2 separate regions of the Homo sapiens genome follow, and region 1 is linked to region 2. Evidence: promoter capture Hi-C in 16 types of primary human blood cells and fetal thymus (Javierre and others, 2016). All regions are on one chromosome and are shown on one strand. Each heading gives the region's core, a stretch centred on a gene start or on the middle of the fragment in contact. The rest is flanking DNA. Distances are from core to core; before and after follow the strand shown. Region 1 holds the start of OR2AE1 (olfactory receptor family 2 subfamily AE member 1). Region 2 holds the start of CYP3A43 (cytochrome P450 family 3 subfamily A member 43).

The links. Contacts are between HindIII fragments. The CHiCAGO score rates a contact against its expected background, and 5 or more counts as called.
Region 1: the fragment with the promoter of OR2AE1 here is called in contact with the fragment with the promoter of CYP3A43 in region 2 in 6 of 17 cell types (neutrophils, M1 macrophages, total B cells and 3 more); the score reaches 7.1 in neutrophils.

Annotation. Positions count from the first base shown.
Region 1 is chr7:99,875,148-99,882,718 of GRCh38, forward strand. OR2AE1 (olfactory receptor family 2 subfamily AE member 1) reads right to left here and starts at 1,886. Exons shown (of 1, transcript NM_001005276.1): 1 at 915-1,886. The coding sequence starts at 1,886. The coding sequence ends at 915. The HindIII fragment of the contact is 12,247 bases long and covers 1-2,430 here.
Region 2 is chr7:99,823,380-99,830,855 of GRCh38, forward strand. CYP3A43 (cytochrome P450 family 3 subfamily A member 43) reads left to right here and starts at 4,634. Exons shown (of 13, transcript NM_057095.3): 1 at 4,634-4,807. The coding sequence starts at 4,737. The HindIII fragment of the contact is 4,482 bases long and covers 1,218-5,699 here.

The DNA of each region.
Region 1 (7,571 bases), core at 636-3,135, 49 kb after region 2:
TCATACTAGGCACTCAACAAAGATTTGTTAAACACAACATGGATTACAAGAATTATGTTATATATTATTATGTATGTATACAAAATGTATTATTCTTTCCCTTATGAATTCTTACACACTGTGATTCATGGAACACTAAGGGTCTAAGAATATAACTTTTAGGGCCAGGTGCAGTAGCTCACGTCTGTAATCTCAGAACTTTGGGAGGCCAAGGTGGGCAGATCACCTGAGGTCAGGGGTTGAAGACCAGCCTGACCAACATGGTGAAACCCCGTCTCTACTAAAAATACAAAAATTAGCCAGGCATGGTGGCACGCGCCTGTAATCCCAGCTACTCTGTAATACTCAGCTACTCCTGGCTGAGGCAGGAGAATCACTTGAACCTGGGAGGCGGAGGTTGCAGTGAGCCAAGATCGTGCCACTGCACTCCAGCCTAGGTGACAGAGAGAGACTCCGTCACAAAAAAAAAAAAGAATACAACTTTTATATCATGCATCCTCCCTTTCAAACAGCCATCATTCACCATTTACTTCCCATGCTTCCAAAAGTAAGCAACACACTCCAATTTTAAACTCCATAAATACTCTCTGGTGGCATGTTTTATATATTTTTGTTAATAAAAATAATAATAGATAAGGGCCCTTATATCTTTATCTTGCCTTCTTTTTTTCAGGGTGTCAGTGACCTTTATATGTCTTCTTTCAAAGGGACTTTTTAAAAAGTTTTCCCTAATTCTCTAAAGATCTACTCAAATGTTCTCCACAGTGCTTGGATACCTGACACCAAGCTGGAATACTGGAATTGTGTGTTAAATGTGTTTTTCTTCCAGTAGTAAAACAGCATAAGGAAGCTATCTCCCTGAAAAACTTTAGAGGTTTATATGAATTAATTTAAGGAGCTTATCCTATTCCACTCTACACTCGGGGCAACCACAATTGCAGTCGTTGAATGCACTGGGTGATAACATCTCTCCTCAGCACTCTTCTCAGAGCCTTAGCTACATCTTTATTCCGGAGAGTATAAATCAGAGAATTCAATGTGGGCGTAATGATGCTGTAGAACACAGAACCAACTTTGTTCTGCAATAGAGTGCACTGGGACCTGGGTCTCATGTAGGAGAAGATGCAGGCACCAAACCAAAGAGAAACCACCGTGAGGTGGGAGCCACAAGTGGCAAAGGCATTTCTCTTGCTCCCAGATGAGCGCATCTGAATGACACTTTGAAGGATGAAGACATAGGATGTAGAAATCAGGAAGATGGGGAGGAGGAGGAGAATGCTGCTGATGTACACTGTGGTCTCATACACAGTGATGTCGCCACATACCAACTTCACAACAGCTGGGAACTCACAGTAGAAGTGGTAGACTTTCCGAGGCCCACAGAAAGGGAAGTGCATCAAGATCGCCATGTGAATTAGGGAGTTCACGGATGCCCCCAACCATGACATGACAGCCATCATCAGTCCCACCTTCTTGTTCATGAGCACAGCATAGCGCAGTGGATGACAGATGGCAACATAGCGGTCATAGGACATGACAGCTAAGAGAAAACATTCAGCACCACCTAGACACAAATAGAGGAAGTGCTGGGTTGCACAGCCCACAAAGGAGATAGATTTCTTGCCAGATAGGTAGTTGGTAGCCATCTTCAGGATGATTGTGGAGACATGCATCAGATCCATGAGGGAGAGCTGGCTGAGCAGGAAATACATTGGTGTATGAAGCTGGGGATCAATGCAGATGAGGAGAATGGTGAGGGTGTTGCCACTCACCGCAATAAGGAAGACCACCATGGTCAAGGAGAAAAGGAAAAGGTGGGTAAGGGAGTCATCGAAGAGCCCCTCAAGGATGAAGTCTGCCAGAGAGGTCTGATTCTTCTGCCACATTGTCCCCTTTCTCAATCCCTGAGGAAACAGAGAGTGGAGATAAAGAGTGTGACTGGAAATACTGGGGTCCAGTATACCCAAGGAAAAGCACCTTTTGATAGAGGACAGAACCTGTGAAAAAAATTTCCGTTTCTAATTATTCAACCTCTCTAATTATTCAAATAACCTTTTTTTAAAAGAGAGCTTAGAAATCTGCCTTCACAAACATAATCACTCTGAAATTTCAGAATATCTGGACTCTATTATCAAACTTCAAGTCTCTTCTCGTTAAGAAAGATATATATGTGTGTGTGTGTGTGTGTGTATGTATATGTATGTGTGTATATATTTATTCCCCATTTACTTCCTAGGCTTCCAAAACACACATATGTATACACACACACACACACACACACATTTGTCTTTCTTAATGAGAAGAGACTTGAAGTTTGATACTTAATGGAGTCTAGATATTCTGAGATTTCAGAGTGATCATGTTTGTGAAGGCAGATTTTTAAGCTCTCTCTCTCTATACAGACACACACAGAGAGACAGTTTGGAGAAAAGCTTGGGGGCGTTGCTTATTTTATCAGTGAGGATTTTACTAGAAAAGCTATAACACTAAGAGATTTCTCTTATACAATTGTGGAAGCTGGTTAGGCAATCTATGCGTGGCTGTTACCTTTGTGTCTGATGCTGGAACTTTAATTCCAGAGGGCAAGTAGTCAGGAAAAAAAAAATGGATATAAAGAGTGGCAGATCAAAGTCATGCTGGAACCCACAAGCATGAGCTGCAATCCCACAAAGGCAGACTGAAACCCATGTCAGTTCTTGTTGTCTCTGAAATTGGCGGTGTGGATATCCTGCAGAAGCTGGGGCGCCTCTTTTTTTTTTTTTTTTTTTTTTTGAGTTGGAGTCTTGCTCTGTCGCCCAGGCTGGAATGCTGTGGCCCGATCTCGTCTCACTGCAAGCTCCGCCTCCCGGGTTCATGCCATTCTCTTGCCTCAGCCTCCGTAGTAGCTGGGACTACAGGCGCCTGCCACCACACCCGGCTAATTTTTTGTATTTTTAGTAGAGACGGGGATTTCACCGTGTTCGACAGGATGGTCTCCATCTCCTGACCTCGTGATCCCCCCGCCTCGGCCTCCCAAAGTGCTGGGATTACAGGCGTGAACCACCGCACCCGGCCGCTGGGGCGCTTCTTAATGGCCAGATTAAAAATGCACACACCTGGCCGGGCGCGGCGGCTCACGCCTGTAATCCCAGCACTTTGGGAGGCCGAGGCAGGTGGATCACGAGGTCAGGAGATGGAGACCATCCTGGCTAACACGGTGAAACCCCGTCTCTACTAAAAATACAAAAAATTTGCCGGGCGTGGTGGCGGGCGCCTGTAGTCCCAGCTACTCGGGAGGCTGAGGCAAGAGAATGGTGTGAACCCAGGAAGCGGAGCTTGCAGTGAGTGGAGATCGCATCACTGCACTCCAGCCTGGGCAACAGAGCGAGACTCCGTCTTAAAAAAAAAAATAAAAAAAAAAAAATAAAAAAAAAAAAGAATGCACACACCTGACCCAGAAGTCAGAAAAACTAAAGGAGAATCCAAGGGAAGGCCTTTTGAAGACCATCTGGTTGGCAACACGTTTTGGTGCTGGGGCAGTGTCCTCTAGGATGTGAAATATACTCTAAATCTGCATCCAATTTATGCTGCTCTTCCTCCCATAGCAAGATTCATGGAACCAGAAATCACCAGGTAGAAGAGAGAATGAGTCCTCTCACTATAGCCCCCATAACTGTGACCCACCAGCACAATTTTAGTTTTCTATCCCTTCACTTTTAGCTTTTGCTGTTTTAGAGGTCTTAGTTCCAAAGGGAGAAATTCTTCTACCAGGTGTCACAACAATAATCCCATTTTCTGATAGTTAAGACTGCCACCATGCCACTTGGGGCTCCTCATAGAACTGAATCAATAGGCAAATAAGGTTACTCTATTGGCTAGTAAGACTGATTCTGACTAGCAATGGGAAATTCAGTCACTACTATACAGTGAGGATATGGAGAATTATGTCTGCAGTCAGATTTTCTAGGGTGTACTCTCATGTCTCATGATGTAAGCCAATAGAAAACTACAACCCAATTCAGACAAGACTGCTAGTGGCCCAGATGCTTCAGGAATAAAGGTTTGGGTTACCCCACCAGGCAAAGAGTCATGAATAACTGTAGACAAAGAGAATTGGAATGGGTAGTGAAAGCAAGTCGTTATAAATACCAGCCAAAAACCATGTGAGCAGCTACAGAAACAAAAACTGTAATAGTTATGGGCATTTATTCTGTGTGTGTGTGTATGTGTACTGAATATTTGTTTTCTTCTCCTCTGTCATCCCCCGTATCTAACATAAGATGTATTAATAATTGTTAATTTCAGGCAGGGGACAGTGGCTCAGGTCTGTAATCCCAGCACTTTGGGAGGCCAAGGCAGGCAGATCACCTGAGGTCAGGACTTTGAGACCAGCCTGGCCAACATAGTGAAACCCTGTCTCTACTAAAAATACAAAAATTAGCCAGGCTTGGTGGCACATACCTGTAATTGCAGCTACTCGAGGGGCTGAGGCATTAGAATCCCTTGAACCCGGGAGGTGGAGTTTGCAGTGAGCCAAGATTGTGCCACTGCACTCTAGCCTGGGCGACAGGGCAAGACTCTGTCTCAAAAAAAAAAAGTAATCTTAATTGATTCCTCAAATATCCACCCTATTCTTTTTTGTGTTTTTTCTCCTAAATGTCTTTCTAGACCTTCATGCGGTGACGATTATCTATTTACTTCTTAAAGCAAAGAACTCAGAACTGAATGCATTCTCCCAAGCATTTGATCAGTAAGAAAGAGGTCACATCTGGCCGGGCGCGGTCGCTCATGCCTGTAATCCTGGCACTTTGGGAGGCCACGACAAGTGGATCACCTGAGGTCAGGAGTTCGAGACCAGCCTGACCAACATGTAGAAACCCCGTCTCTACTGAAAATACAAAATTAGCCGGGCGTGGTGGCGCATGCCTGTAATCCCAGCTACTCCAGAGGCTGAGGCAGGAGAATCGCTAGAACCCAGGAGGCAGATGATGCAGTGAGCCGAGATCACACCATTGCACTCCACCTTGAGCAACAAGAGCAAAATTCTGTCTCAAAAAAAAAAAAAAAAGTCACATCTATTACTGTCTCTCTCCTAATGCAGTCTACAGTCTCATCTTTCTGGCTGTCACTTCACACTGTTATTTCACACTCAGCTTCTGGTGGACTAGAAGCTCAACTTCTCCCATGCTCCTCCTGATCACTCCAACCCATTAGAGATCTCCACACACTTCCCTTTTATTTAAGTATCCATATACTTCTCTATCACTTTCCACATTAGTGTCCATCTTTCTCTACAAATCTCCATGGTGTAAGTTTTTCACCATCTGACCTGTGTCTCTCTTCCTCCCTTCAGCAACTTTGCTAATAATTTCCCATTCTGATTTGTGGCCTTCAAGTGACTTTTTTTTTTCTCTGCCTTCCAAGGAAGCTTTCCTTATGGATTGACTTAAGGGATAAGCTGACAATGCCCTAATTTATAATAAAGGTTTCCTAAATACCTCAAGCCCTAATATTATCTTACCTGTTATTTCCCTGCAGAGACTCGTAGGAAGACAAAGCATAGAAATGAAATGCAGAGGGCAAGAGAGGTCCACACTGACCCACCTGTTGGCTACTGTTGATCAAAACAAGCCTTTTCTGAGGTGCTCACCAGACTTCCTTCCCTAAGCCTGGAAATTTCCATTTACGTTACATTTACTGTGGAACGGCATAGAAGAAATTGCCCCAACGCAGGCATTGTTGTTTGCACTAATTACCCTAATGGCAGAATATCACCAGGACCAATGGGACACATGTGTGTTCATATTGTGAGCTCCATCAACACACATCAGGACAGATTAAGTAACTGAACTTTAGCCTCTACTAGTTGGACCTTTGAATCACACATATGCTTCCTCTGGCTCTATATGTATATTTGAGACAACCCTCCATTCCAATATCGGAGCTTGGGCAATAGGAATTTCCATTAATATTACTTTATTAAGAAGGTAAACTGAATACCAGTTTAATCATGAATGTGCCCAGAGTCAAAAGAAAATCTGTTATGGTTTTCCATTGTTTTGGATCTCTCAAGGCACTCTCTTCTTAGCTTTACACTTCCTTCCCTACTTAATAAAATATGAATTTGGCTGATGCAGTCAGGAAGCACTTTTCTGACTGCATAAATGTCTTCTCAATAGTAATCATGGGGGTTAGAGTAAGAACATTCTTGGTCTGATGTGAGCCAATCATAAGAAAAAACAGACATCATCTGGGAGAAATAAAACATCCCCCTAACCCAGAGGACCTATGTCAGCTGAAGCAAATTGTGGACACTAAATAGAATGGCGTCAGGGATTCCATCCCAGAGGACACATCTTGCATGGCTTCTGGAGACCATTACTCAAGATGTCAATTAGACTGTGCTGTATGCACTGAGATAAGCATCCCCAAAGGGCTTTACTTGGAGTTTGTTCCAAGTGATCAGGAGAATGAGATATTTTGCGGAGTGAGCCTGAAGATAACAGGAGAATATTCTCCTCAGGGGCCAATTAACTGTGGAGATAAAAAATTCTTAGAGTCCCTTGATTGTTTTTCACTTGGGAACCCAGATTTCTGTAACGCCTTTCCACGCAACCCTTTTGAGAAGACAGTCTGAGTAATAATATCTAGTCTCTTTTGCCCACAGGACCCTTTTGAGGGTTTCCATGTGCCATATCATAGGAAAGAAGTCAAGGAATAGAGGCAGGCAGTTCCCATCCTAGCTGTTGATCGTACTCCAATTTCATAGACTACATGAATATAACATGTCAAGAGATTTCAGGTCGAGTGCGGTGGCTCACACCTTTAATCCCAGCACTTTGGGAGATGGAGGCAGGTGGATTACTTGAGGTCAGAAGTCTGAGACCAGCCTGGCCAACATGGCAGAACCCTGTCTGTACTAAAAATACAAAAATTAGCCAGGCATGGTGGCACACATCTGTAGTCCAAACTACTCGGGAGACTGAGGCAGGAGAATCACTTGAACCCGAGAGGTGTAGGTTGCAGTGAGCTGAGATCGCACCACAGCACTCCAGCCTGGGTGACAGAGTAAAACTTCATCTCCAAAAAAAAAAAAGAAAGAAAGAAAGAAAAAGATTTCAGACACAGAGGGAAAAGGAAAAAATGGCATAACCCTACCTCTCCTTCTTATGCACTCCGATATCATTCTCATACCCTGCCCTTCCTTTCCATTATAGGGATATGTTGACCTCTTCTTTGTTTCTCCATCTCAACTCAAATCCTAAAATGTTTTGCTTCACTGATATTCGCTGGTTGTTTAAAATTGTGTAGCACTCTCCCCAACTCTCTCTCACTCCTGCTTTCTCCATGTGACCTACCTGCTCTCACTTTGCCTTCTACGGTGAGTAAAAGCTCCCTGAGGCCTCCCAAGAAGATCATCGGACACAAGCACCAGGCTTCCTGTACAGCCTGCAGAACCATGAGCCAATTAAACCTCTTTTCTTTATACATTACCCAGCCTTGGGTACTTCTTATAGCAATGGAGGAATAACCTAATACAGATTGCAAATAATTTCTCTCATTCAATAGGTGGGCTTTTTATTTTTATTTTT
Region 2 (7,476 bases), core at 3,384-5,883:
TGGTGGCTGGGCTGCCAATCCCATTGACCAGACTGGGAAGTTGTGATTCTTTTTCCAGCCCTTCCATGGCTGCCCAAGGACCGATCAGTGCACACTTCCTCCCCTCTAGGGCCCATAAAAGCCCCAGGCTCTGCTAGAGCTGAGCAGACATCAGGTGGACCAGCTGCAGAAATGAGCTACCCTCTCTGCTGATAGCAAGAGACATTTAGACAACCAGCAGCAGAGAGGGGCTACCCACTCTAGGGCCTCCTCTCTGCTGAGAGCCTCAGAGACCCGCAGAGACATGCAGACTACCAGCTGCAGAGAGGAGCAACCCACTCCAAAACCCCCTCTCTGCTGAGAGCTGCAGAGATGACAGGATGACCTACCTGAAGAGAGGAGCCTCCCAACCCAGGGTGTCTTCTCTGCCAGGAGCTGAACACTGATCGGGACACCCTGACTGTGGAAAGTAGCTACCCTTTGTGGGTCTCCTGTGAGCTGTTCTATTGCTCAATAATGCTCCTCTTCATCTTGCTTTCCCTCCACCTGTCTGCATACCTCATTCTTCCTGGTCGAAGGACAAGAACTCAGGACCCACTGAATGGCAGAGGTAAAACAGCTATAACATAAACAGGGCTGAAACATGCCCCTTGCTCACCACGTTGCAGGCAAAGAGAAGGAGAGAAGAGCCACAGTCCTTCAGGGAGCCCAGACCTGGAAGCTCCCCAAAACAGGGTTGTGACTCTTTGGTATCCTGCAGTGCCTGGTGTCTCCAAGTTTGCAGTAACCACTGCATTCCCCAGTGCTGGCTGGGGAAACTGCTTGCAGTGCACCTGGTCCAGCCACAGCCTCACAGAGAGCCAGTGCCTGTGCCGGCACCTGGAGCTGCCTGTCACTGCAGCGGCTGTAGTGTCTGACTGTGCAGTGGCCTGACCCCACATTCATTCACACACCCCTCATGGCTCCATTCCTAACTCACCCTTGGCAGGCATGGGATCCAGGCTGGTAGTGTGGACTGTGTGCAGCTTGCCAACCCAAGTGGGTGGAAGAAGCCCAGCAAGTCCGAGCAAAACTTGGGCAAAGGTGCCACTGGCCAGAGGTTTTAGGCCATAAAAGCAACACCTCAAGGATCCTATAACATTATTGTGATGTCTTCTCCATAATTTTCTTATCTTTTTATGGAAATTTCTTGATTAGATTACTGAATTCAGGATGGAGCTCTTAAATAGAGTGATGAAAGCTTTTTTTCCCTCTTTTTTGAAACAGTCTATCTCTGTCTCCCAGGCTGGAGTGCAGTGGTGTGATGTCAGCTCACTGCAACCTCTGCCTCTCGGGCTCAGGTGATCCTCTGGATCACCTCAGCCACCCCAGTAGCTGGTATTACAGGCATGCGCTACCATGCCCAGCTAATGTTTGTATTTTTAATAGACATGGGGTTTCATCATGTTGGCCAGGCTGATATTGAACTCCCGGCCTCAAGTGAGTCACCTGCCTCAGCCTCCCAAAGTGCTGGGATTACAGGCGTGAGCCTCCTTACCTAGCCAAAGAAAGCATTTTAATGTTTGGCTGTACTATGAATAATTCTGAAAAAGAAGTCAGTCTATTTTACCTGAGGATCTATCCTTTATAAACATTTTAGGCTTTGATTTTTTAAAACTGAAGGTACCCTTTTGAGTGACACCAAAACCAGTAAGTTCAGGCCTGTTGATATGTGACACTGGGTAGGTTCTCCGGGGATTGGACTTTCCCAGGACTAACCAAGTCACAAGGGTTAGGGAAGCAAAAGACCCATAGGGATGGGGCTTCTTAAGAGAAACTCCCCCGAGAGCTGGACATGTGTAGAACAACAGGTGTGTTCTTCAGAAGCACCAGCTGCTCAGTCCGCAGAGCCAGCTCCAACAAGTGGGCTTATAGGGGTTTCAGGCCCATGTTCTACACTCCTGTAGCCCCTTTTATGACAGAACAGCACAGAAATACAGGAACAAAGGAAAAGACTATTTCTAGAGGAAAAGGGGATCAAACGATGTGAGTATTCATAAGAGAAAGTACTAGAGAGTACCCTAGAGTTGCTGCACCCAGCACTAGTAACACAAATCCTTTTCTCCTATTTATTAAGATTTTGCAGAGGAGACAAAGAGCAATTCTTAACATCTGCCCAAGTGGATCTCCCAGAAAGAAAGGCCAGGAGCTTGTCTGGAAAGAAATTCTTACTTTTCTCAGCCAGACATGGAGGCATGTGCCTGTAGTCCCAGCTACTTGGGAGACTGAGATAGAAGGATCACTTGAGCCCAGGAGGCGGAGATTGCAGTGAGCCAAGATCACACCACTACATTCCAGCCTGGGTAATAAAATGAGACTCTGTCAAAAAAAGAAAAAGAAAAAAAAAGAAATTCTTACTTTTCTGCTGACTTACAAGTGCTTGGGCTCCCTTCACTGAGGCTTCTGAAAGAACAGAGTGGCTTTGGTATCCTGCTCATAGGGACAGAACTGCTGAGGCCAAGAAAAATGTTTGTCCTTTCTCCTCTGAAGGTTTGTTAACAACAAAAAAAATCACCCACAAAGGAGATTAATGGGAGAAATAGCATACATATTCATTCATATGTTTATGGAGGAGAAATACAGAGTGATTCCCCCTTCTTGAGAAACAGTAAGTCTCAAAGAAAGAGACTTTCTTTCACCCCCTTTTATCCAGGGGTAAGAACAACTAGCTGAACAAAACTGACAGCTGTCAATCAAGTGGGAAGTCCAAAACTCATGAGAGACCCACCCAGTTTTCAATCATCATGAAGGAGCCAGGGGCTCAATGGCCCCTGCTGGTACCAAGTTGCCAGGTCCCTGCAATGTTCCAGACAAAGACAGTGATGGTAAAAAGGGAAAAGTGGAGGTAGAATGCAAGTGCAGCAGCAGGAAGATATGGGACTCTCCATTTTAGGGTCTTCAAGTTTTTCAGATTTTCTGAGACATGGGTTAACTCTTCAGGTTAGTCTCCTAGTAAAACACAGCCAAAGTCCCAATTGTGTTTGAAACTTTCAAAAATGCAGATTGAAAGAAAGCCTCTTACTGTCTTTGAGAAGTCCAGACTCCTCTTATCCTCATTGCATGCTTCGGAGTTCAATTTAGGTGTATCTCTCACATCCATTTCTGTCGAGCCTTTACCTTTAAATTTTAAACTTGAAAAACTGCCAGAGTACCTGATAGTGATTGATCAGAGACAGAGCCACCGAATTACCCGATGGCAGGCCTTAGAGACCATGGCCTTAGGACCTAGGTTATGCATAGCCCTCACCTTAGGAAGGGGTCCCTTCAAGGGCAAATAAAATGCGATAGTCCTTGCAACACTGAAGCATGGAGTATCCTGTGAGGCATGAACTTGCTTGATGCAGCATGAATGCACCCCAAGAAACATGGGCATGCCCCTCCAAGTGCAAGCATACCCCACAAGTGGGTAGCCATAGAGCCAGAAGGGCAGGTTCCCTGAAAAAAATAAAGACCTCAAGACCTCATCCTAAATGTGAGATCTTGGATGTAAGAGGATTTACTGATTTTTCCACAAAACAGCCAGGCCAGGAAGATAACTGAGCTTAGAGGACTCTTGCTGGTGCCAATGCATTGATTAGTCCAGATGACAAGGGAGAGGATCTTGAGAGCCAATTTTGATCCCTTCCTCATCACCAGGAAATATGAGTAAAGATTGTGGGATCTGTGGAGGACAGAGGGAGAGCTTCATTTTCTATAAAACACAGTCTGCAGATTGAGGAGATGCAGCCTCGGAGGTGGAGAGCTATAAAGTCAAAAACCACAGAGCAGGATAGAGGAGTCAGAGGAGTGAAGAAAAGAGTCTTGATTAGACAGCCTTTAAGCCCCAAGTCACATGTCTCTTAATTGGCTGTTCCTAGGTGGTCAGTTAGTTCTTACCACATGATCTGTTGGTGAGCAGTTGGAAAATTCCCAGGTACAGATTTTTTCAGAAAATGTTATTTGACTTGGCTACAGAAAAATAGGTTTTGCAACACTTACTAAGAACACAGAGAACATGACCATCACCTAAACCTGCCATGGCCTCTTGGGTTTGTTTTTGCTTTTGAGGCACAGGGAGTCCTTCTTGTCTGTTTACCTGGAGGCATGATTTGGCAACCTAGATAACAAACAGAGATAGGCTTTCTAAAAAGAATTATTTTTATTTGGGAATAAAGCATTGCAATGGGAATATGCGTGCCAAGGTAAACTATGTGCTTATTCAGGTAGGTAAAGTAAGACAAAGTTTAAAAAAATAATGAGAAGGATTACATATTTGTTTTGGAATGATTATCCTTGGCTATAAAGATCAATAACAAGACTGACATCAGTTTGAGGTTGGACAGGCAGTTGCTGGGCAGATGTTCTTGCAGAAGTATTTTTCTTTAGGTTCCTGAGAATCTATAACCTTTGGGCTTACCAATAGCAGTGACTGATTTGTTTACTGATTGTTCACAGAATAGGAAATCAAAGGAGGCCAAAATAAGGACAGCCATAATTATTTGCCAATTGTCAATTTGAAAAGGGTACCCAAATCCCTCCATATGAGGAGTAGCATAAGTGGCTTTTCTACTGGCTGCCGCTGTAGACCCACCTCCTTCTCCAGCACATAAATATCGCTGTTAACATTAACTAAATCACCTCTGGGCAGAGAAACAAAGCTCTATATGCACAGCCCAGCAAAGAGCAGCACACAGCTGAAAGAAAAACTCAGAAGACAGAGCTGAAAAAGAAAACTGGTGATGGATCTCATTCCAAACTTTGCCATGGAAACATGGGTTCTTGTGGCTACCAGCCTGGTACTCCTCTATATGTGAGTAACTATGCAGGCATGTTTGCTCTTAACTCTAAGACCTGAAGTGCTAATTGGGCCCATCTTTTTCTTATTTGTTTTGAAGATAAAAGAGATAACGGAGGGGAAGTTACCTAAGTGCCAAATACTGTGAACACATAAAATATTATTAATATGTTAGGACTCCTAATACAACATTTGAAAATGTAAAATTTAGTCTGGGTGCGGTGGCTCACACCTGTAATCTCAGCACTTGGGAGGTGGAGGCAGGCCAATCACAAGGTCAGGAGTTCAAGACCAGCCAGACCAACATGGTGAAACCCCTTCTCTACTAAAAATACAAAAATTAGTCAGGCATGGTGGCACACACCTGTAATCCCAGCTACTTGGGAGGCTGAGGCAGGAGAATCGCTTGAACCCAGGAGGCAGAGGTTTCAGTGAGCGGAGATTGCACCACTGCATTCCAGCCTGGGTGACAGAGCAAGACTCCGTCTCAAAAAAAAAAATAAAACTTTGTCATACTGAGTAGTTTGAACTAAAGAAGACTGAAAGACTTCACAAATGTCTTCAGAATCTCTGACCCTCTTCTGTCTACCCATCCCCCATTCTTTCCCTCCTGAAGTGCAGGGTTGCTCTGAAGTTCTCTTATCTGACTAAGGGAAGATCTTCCAAAAAGAATGCAATTGTCTTGAGCCTCTCCAAATAATCTCATCAATCAGAAAACTAATTCACAGGAAAAGAGAAAAAGTTTGATAATACTTATTCTTTGGAGCACTGCTACCTGAGAGACTTTATCTCCACAATAAAATAACCTTTGTTCATCATGTGTTTTCTCCCTTCACCTTCCCATAACTTGTGTCAGAAACTCCCTATCAGAAGCCACTCCCTACTTTTTAGCTTACAATGCTATTTAAGCTTTACTCATTCAGTCCTTATTTTAGTCTCATATATTGTGGGCCTCCAGCACATATGCATGTAAAATTTTGTATGGATTTTCACTGTAACCACCCAAGAGATTCACCTTGCCCCCTGCCTCAACAGAGCCCATTCATCAAGACAGGGGAATTGTAATAGAGAATGAGTTAATACATGCTGCCAACAAAAAGAGCCAAACTCTGTACAATACTTGAAGAGATTTATTCTGGGCCAAATATGAGTGACCATGGCCCATGACACAGCCTTCAGGAGGTCTTAAGAACATGTACCCAAGGTGGTCAGGGTGCAGCTTGGTTTTATTCTTTTAGGGAGGCATGAGATATCAAATACATTTAAGAAATACATTGGTTTGGTCCACAAAGGCAGGAAATGTGATTTTTGCAGAATTCTTTGTGATAGAGCAGACTCCAGAGAAATTGCAACAACTTAAAGTCTTTCAGATCTGGCCCTAAGGAGCTATAGGAGAGAAAAAAAATCTGTCAGATCACCATTGCCTACCTCTACTCCAACTGGAGCTGTTTCAAAACCAACATGTAGAAATCTTTTTGTCTGGCTGCCCTGTGAACTCAGAAACTAGTCTGCTAAATGATTAACTTTTGGTCTCCTTTTGCTTTGGTAGAATGACCTCTTATTAAGTACCTGTTTAACTGCACCATATACAGACCTATCTTTCATGACAGCAGACCTGCAACATCACCTCCTGAAATGAGGCACAGCTGTTTAACTGGATTGACATTGCTAGGAATGTGAGACTGGTTTATACTGGTTTAATGTGATTCCTTGCGACTCAGCTACCAATTCAATTGTCCTCTCCACAAGCATCAACTCAGCTTTAGTATGTACATTTTCTAGGGAAGTTTATGACAGGGGAAAGTTGGGGCTCCAAAAATGAAACCCCAAAATATGGCACTTAAGCATGTTGAGGACTTTGAACCAAAGGAAATTGAAAGGTCTCAGAAAGTCTTCAGAACCAAGCTAACTCTTATGTTCTCCTGTCTCCCAACCCTGCTATTTCTCCCAAAATATAGGAAGGGGCTTTCTCTGAAGTTCTCATACCTAAAGGAAGATCCTCCTAAAAAAAAGCAATGGTCTTGAGCCCCCTCCCTATAATCTCATGAAAAAGAATCTTAGCAGGGCCAGGCATGGTGGCTCATACCTGTAATTCCAGCACTTTGGAAAGCCGAGGTGGGTGGATCACGTGAGGTCAGAAGTTCAAGACCAGCCTGGTCAACATGATGAAACCCTGTCTCTACTAAATATACAAAAATTAGCTGGGTGTGGTGGCAGGTGCCTGCAATCCCAGCTACTCGGGAGGCTGAGGCAGGAGAATCGCCTGAACCCTGGAGGCAGAGGTTGCAGTGAGCCAAGATTGCGCCATTGCACTCTAGCCTGAACAACAAGAGCAAAACTTAGTCTAAAAGAAAAAAAAAAGAAAAAAATAATATTAGCTCACAGAAAGGGAGACTAAGGTTGATAATACTTGTTCTTTGGAGCACTGATGCCTGACAGACATTATAATAAGATGACTTTTGTTTATCATGCTTTTTCTTCCCTCACTCTCTCATGTCTTGTGTCACCCACTCCCCATCAGAAGATACTACATTTTTATAGCTCAGAATGCTATTTAAGCTTCAATCATCAGGCCATTCTTTGAGTATCATATCTTTCAAGGCTCCCATGCATATTCATGAGATAAATTTATAAGGATTATCTCCTATTAATTGATCTACTGTTAGTTCATTTCTCAGACTCAA